2 separate regions of the Homo sapiens genome follow, and region 2 is linked to region 1. The links are contacts of gene promoters, found by promoter capture Hi-C in blood cells and fetal thymus (Javierre and others, 2016). All regions are on one chromosome and are shown on one strand. Each heading gives the region's core, a stretch centred on a gene start or on the middle of the fragment in contact. The rest is flanking DNA. Distances are from core to core; before and after follow the strand shown.

Region 1 (3,062 bases), core at 300-2,799:
ATCAAACCACATGTTCCAAGGGATGGCCAACCCCGAATGCCGGAGGCTCTGGTAGAATTTCTGCTACTCAGTGCTTTGGGCCCTCAGATCTGCCACTGACCTTGACATTCAAGTTACAGAATTGTAGAACTGAAAGGAGCCTGAAAGTCCATCTGGTCCTTTTGCCCATTTTAGAGATGGGGAAACTGAGGACCTACAACTAAGCTGACTCCAGGAAGGAATCTGGCCAACTAAGCACCTTCCAGAGCCTGCTGCATCCCTGCCTCCAACCACAGCCCTGGAGGCAGGTGCAGGAGTGCATCAAGCCCAGGCAATTAGAAAGATGAGACAGAGAGAGAGCCAGGAAGCGATCCAATAGCACTAGAAAGGCAGAGAAGGAGCAGCATGTCTCCACAGCTTGAAGCCCCAGGCTGGTGTTAGAAGCTTTGGCTTCAAAGTCTGGCTCTGCTGCTGCCCAGCCGTGTGACCCTAGATGGTCACTTACCCGCTGAGTCTCAGCTTCCTCACTTTTATTTTATTTTTTTAGAGACAAGGTCTTGTTCTGTCACCCGCGCTGGAATGCAGTGTGGCACGATCACGGCTCACTGCAGCCTCGAACTCCTGGGCTCAAGCGATCCTCCTACCTTGGCCTCAGGAGTAGCTGGGACTACAGGCATGCACCACTGCGCCTGGTCCTTTCTCATCTCACCTCAGAGCAGATAACCGCGTCTATTTCATGTTGTTGGAAGAATTAAGTGAGATAATGCAAGAAGAATTGAGCGCAATGCCTGACACACAGTAGGTGCCCAATAAATAACTAAAAAGAATAAGGTAACGGCCTGTAATCACACCTGTAATCCTAGCACTTTGGGAGGCTGAGGTAGGCAGATTGCCTAAGCTCAGGAGTTCAAGACCACCCTAGGCAACAGGGTGAAACCCTGTCTCTACTAAAATACAAAAAAAAAAAAAAAAAAAAAATGGTGGCACACATCTGTAGTCCCAGCTACTTGGGAGGCTGAGACAGGAGAATCGCTTGAACTCGGGAGGCGGAGGTTGTAGTGAGCTGAGACTCCAGCCTGGGTGACAGAGCAAGATCCTGTCTCAAAAAAATAAATAAAATACAAAAGATTAACCTGGCGTGGTGGCAGGCGCCTGTAGTCCCAGCTACACAGGGGGCTAAGGCACGAGAATCGTTTGAGCCCGGGAGGTGGAGGTTGCAGTGAGCTGAGACTGTGCCACTGCATTTCAGCCTGGGCAACAGAGCAAGACTCCATCTCCAAATAAATAAATAAATAGTATAAGGTAGGGAGAGAGAATGAACACACACGTCAAACAGAGTGGGGTGGGGGATGCCAAAAAGCACTGCAACTCAGAATTTTCTGTTTCAGGATATTTGGAAAATCCATACTTCTAAGAAAGCCCTGTCTCCTGCCCAAATTAAACAGTAACCACCCAAGGTCAGGGAAAGGGCCTTATCAGAGCAGGTTTCTCTCCAAGGGGCGGTTTGGCCTTGACCAGGTGCACTCACCTGCTCCTGCCTATAAGTGTGCCCCAGCCCATCCCGATGGTCAGCCAGTCCTGAGCACCTAACCATGTTGGGCATCACTGTCCTCGCTGCGCTCTTGGCCTGTGGTAAGCGGTGGGGTGGGGCTGCAGCTAGCAGGCTGTGAGCTCGGGCTGGCCTCCAGGGCAAGGACGGGATGGGGAGTGGGGGGGCCTCTGCTCTCCAGGTAAGACACTTTGGGGTCCCCTGTGGGTTCAGATGCTACCAACCAGCTGTGTGTCAGACAAGCCACAGCCTGCCTGCCAACTCTGTTTCCACATCTGCAAAACAGGGAAGATGATCTGACGTGTCCCCAGTTAGAAATGAGGTGTGGAAAGCACCACGCAAGGGGGAGGGACACGAGATGCCTCATCCTGGGTTCACCCCAGGGACCATCGGGGTCTGCCTTTCCCAGCATTCTCTCTCCCTTGAGGATTCTCCATTCCATCATTTTGGTGGCGTTTTCCCAGATTAGGAGCCCAGGGACTTAGCTTAAATGCCACTTCTTCTCTGCAGGACCTGGAAAAGTCATTTCACCTCTCTAAATCTCACTAACTTTTTTGGCAAAGGAGAGCACTTAATGAAGAGTCCTTCCAGCTAACAACAACAACAGTAATAATAGCAGCTCCTGTTTCCTGTGTGTTTACTATGTGCCAGACGCTATGCTAGGCCCCTTACATGTAGGAGCCAATTTAATCCTCAAAACAACCTTAAGAGGTAGGGTCTATTGCCAGGCATGGTGGCTCACGCCTGTAATCCCAGCACTTTGGGAGGCCGAGGTGGGTGGATCACTTGAGATCAGGAGTTTGAGACCAGTCTGGCCAACAAGATGAAACCCCGTTTCTACTAAAAATACAAAAATTAGCCAGGCGTGGTGGCGGGCACCTGTAATCCCAACTACTCAGAAGGCTGAGGCAGGAGAATTGCTTGAACCCAGGAGGAGGTTGCAGTGAGCCGAGATCGCGCCATCAAACTCCAGCCTGGGCAACAAGAGTGAAACTCCGTCTCAAAAAAAAAAAAAAAAGAAAAAGAAAGAAAAAGAGGTAGGGTCTTTTCATAGCCCCATTTTACAGATGAGGACATCGAGGTTCCGTGCGACTTAGTATCTTGCCTGACATCACATGGCAGGTTAGTGGAAGAGGCAGAATTTGAGTCCACGTCTGTCTCGCGGAACAGCACGTGTTCTTGACCGCTCCACACAGCTTCCCAGCTATAACAGTGGATTTACTGCTCTCTCACACACACACCATGATGCAGGGGCCTAAAAACAGACAGAAGAACACAGGTGTACCGGGCACTCGCACACATGCCAGCCAGTTTTGTTTTGTTTTGTTTTGTTTTTTGAGATGGAGTTTTGCTCTTATCACCCAGGATGGAGTGCAATGGCACGATCTCGGCTCACTGCAACCTCCATCTCCCAGGCTCAAGCGATTCTCCTGCCTCAGCCTCCTGAGTGGCTGGGATTACAGGCATGCACCACCACGCCTGGCTAATTTCTGTATTTTTAGTAGAGACAGGGTTTCGCCATGTTGGCCAGGCT
Region 2 (3,014 bases), core at 246-2,745, 270 kb before region 1:
CATTTTTAGGTGTTACTGTCATAATTATTTTTGAAAATCTTTCCATTCTAGTAAGTCCATTCCAAATCCAAGCCAAACACACCTGAGAGTCGTGGGGCTTTATCTCAGAATGCCTGGGAGTACAGACCCATGAGCAAGCCAACTTCCTCCTTTCCCTCCTCTCCCCCGGCCCTCTGCTGCAGGGCAAGGTAAAGCTAGGTGCCTGGGATACTGCTGGGTTTTTTTTTATCTTTTTTTTTTTTTGAGATGGAGTCACTGCAACCTCCGCCTTCCAGTTTCAAGCGATTCTCCTGCCTCAGCCTCCTGAGTAGCTGGGATTACAGGTGCGCACCACCACGCCCGGCTAATTTTTGTATTTTTTGGTAGAAACGGGGTTTTGCCATGTTGCCCAGACTGGTATCAAACTCCCAGGCTCAAGTGATCTGCCCACCTCAGGCTCCCAAAGTGCTGGGATTATAGGCGTGAGTCACCACCACACCTGGCCTATTTTAACCATTTTTAAGTGTACAATTCTGGGACATTAAGCACATTTACAGTGCTGTGTGACCATCGCCACTGTCTTTTTTCCAGAACTACTACATCATCCCAAACAGAAATGGAGGCAGGTTTTCTTTTTTTGAGACGGAGTCTCCCTCTGTCGCCCAGGCTGGAGTGCAGTGTTGCGATCTCAGCTCACTGCAAGCTCCGCCTCCCGGGTTCATGCCATTCTCCTGCCTCAGCCTCCCAAGCAGCTGGGACTACAGGCGCCCTCCACCACGCCTGGCTAATTTTTTGTATTTTTAGTAGAGACGGGGTTTAACCGTGTTAATCAGGATGGTCTCGATCTCCTGACCTCATGATCCGCCCGCCTCGGCCTCCCTAGAGGCAGGTTTTCTAAATGCTTGCATGAGTGGTTCTCCATCTTCAGCTTGTGTTAGAATCCTCTGGGGTGGGGGGCTTGTTAAAACATAGATTGCTGGGTCCTCCCTCCTCCTCCACCCCCCGCCACATCCCCCACCCCCAGTTGCTGATTCAGTAGGTCTGAGTGGGGCCCCAGGATTTGCATTTCTAACCAGCTCCTGGGTGACGCTGATGCTGTTGATTTGGGGCCACGCCTGGAAGATCGCTGTTTGAGATCAAAAGGTTTGCAGGTCAGAGTGGATGACGGCATCCTTCCAGGTCAATGAGAGAAGCCAAACTTCTATGACCTATGAGATAAGGGGTTTGTTATAGGAATTAGTTCTTATGCATTCATAGGGGGGGCGGCAGAAAGGAAGGTGGAAGAGTTGCCGGGGACCAGGGGCATCGCCACCTGGCCCTGGGTACACGGGCAAACTGGTGGAGAAGTCTACAGCCAGCCGTTGTCTGGTCCATCCCCAGCCAAGTGTCCGCGGGGGGGCCTGGGCTGCTGTTGGTTAACAGGACCAGCAGTCAGGAGAAAGAGCTGGATGCAGAATGGAGGACAGGCTCGAATGTGCTGGAACCCACGGGGCTGTCTCTCACCTCATCCAATCATGATGACCTCTAAAGTGTAATGGTCGCTGCTTCACTTCCATCTCCCAGCTTTCCACAGATTCCTCTTTTGACCAATTATAACCCAGAACCAGTCAGAGAAGGGGATTCTGGGAAAAGTAGTTCCAGCTTAACCAAGCCCGCACAGCAGGAACTACCACAGCTGATCAATCAGTCCTTGCCGCGGAACCTCCTCCTTGAACCCACAGGTGGTTTCTGGGGCTCTGCTGGGCGTTCCCTGACTCTCTTGACAGGACCTTCTAGCAGAAACAGATGTGGTCCATCCCAACAACCCCTTGCTCAGATCATCAGCTGAGAACTTAATAAAAGCAGATTTCCAGGCCCCAGCCCAGGCCTGCCGAGTCAGACTTCAGCAGTGGGACTCAGGAATCAGATTTTCAAACAAGCTCTCTAGCTGATTAACATACCCAGCCACGTTTGAAACTTCTGAAGTATGGAAAAGAAAGTGGACTCTGTCCAGGCACAGTGGCTCACACCTGTAATCCCAGCACTTTGGGAGGCTGAGGCAGGTGGATCGCTTGAGCCCAGGAGTGCAAGACCAGCCTGGGCAACATGGCAAAACTCCATTTCTGCAAAAAAGAAAAAATACCAAAATTAGTGGAGCATGGTGACACGTGCCTGTAGTCCCAGCTACTTGGAAGGCTGAGGTGGTAGGGTCACCTGACCCTGGGAGGTCAAGGCTGCAGTGAGCCAAGATTGTGCCACTGCACCCCAGCCTGGGCAACAGAGTGAGTGAGACCCTGTCTCAAAAAAAAAAAAAAAAAAAAAGGAAGGAAGGAGGAGGGAGGGAGGAAAGAAAAGAATGGAAAGGAAGGAAGGAGAGAGAGAAAGAAGAAAAAAGAAAGAGAAGAAGGAGAGAGAGAGAGACAGAGACAGAAGAAAAAGGAAAAGAGAAAGTAAGTGAACTCTGGGGCTAGACAGCCACGGGTTAGAATTCTGGTTCCACCACGTGCCAGCTTTGTGATCCTGAGCAAGTGACTTAACCCTTTATGATCCTATATTGTCTACAAGAGTTCCTCCTTTTCTATCATTTCACTCTCCACTGTTTCAGTTACCCATAGCCAACTACAATCTGAAAATATTAAATGGAAAATTCCGGAAAGATATGATTCATAAGTTTTAAATTGCATCCCATTCTGAGTAGTGTGATGAAATCTCACACTGTCCCACTCTGTCCTGCTCCAGACGTGAATCGTCTCTTTGTCCAGCAGATGGGTGCTGTCGACACTACCTGCTCATTGGTCACTTAGGAGCGGTCTGGGTTATCAGATCAGAAAACGTCGTCGTTATGTGTAAGGTCGGGTGCTGTCTGTTGTTTCAGGCATCCACTGGGGGTCTTGGAACGTATCCCCCGAGGATATGTACTCAGCTGTTAAATGGGCTCAATGCCTACCTTTTTCATGGAGGGTTGTGGGAACCGAATGAGGCCATGTGTAATAAACTTCTGGCAGGTGAAATATTATTGTGCTTAATCCAGTTAATAGTTGTGCCTGGACATGCCT

The links. The method cuts DNA at HindIII sites, captures the fragments that hold promoters and counts their contacts. A CHiCAGO score of 5 or more calls a contact.
Region 2: a contact is called between the fragment with the promoter of TMEM51-AS2 here and the fragment with the promoter of CTRC in region 1, in 7 of 17 cell types (activated CD4 T cells, total CD4 T cells, erythroblasts and 4 more). The highest score is 6.8, in activated CD4 T cells.

Annotation. Positions count from the first base shown.
Region 1 is chr1:15,436,894-15,439,955 of GRCh38, forward strand. CTRC (chymotrypsin C) reads left to right here and starts at 1,550. Exons shown (of 8, transcript NM_007272.3): 1 at 1,550-1,611. The coding sequence starts at 1,572. The HindIII fragment of the contact is 3,491 bases long and covers 422-3,062 here.
Region 2 is chr1:15,170,129-15,173,142 of GRCh38, forward strand. TMEM51-AS2 (TMEM51 antisense RNA 2) reads right to left here and starts at 1,496. Exons shown (of 3, transcript NR_167931.1): 1 at 1,483-1,496; 2 at 1,053-1,187. The region is part of intron 1 of TMEM51 (transmembrane protein 51); the gene reads left to right. RefSeq lists an enhancer at 2,016-2,185. The HindIII fragment of the contact is 7,186 bases long and covers 1-3,014 here.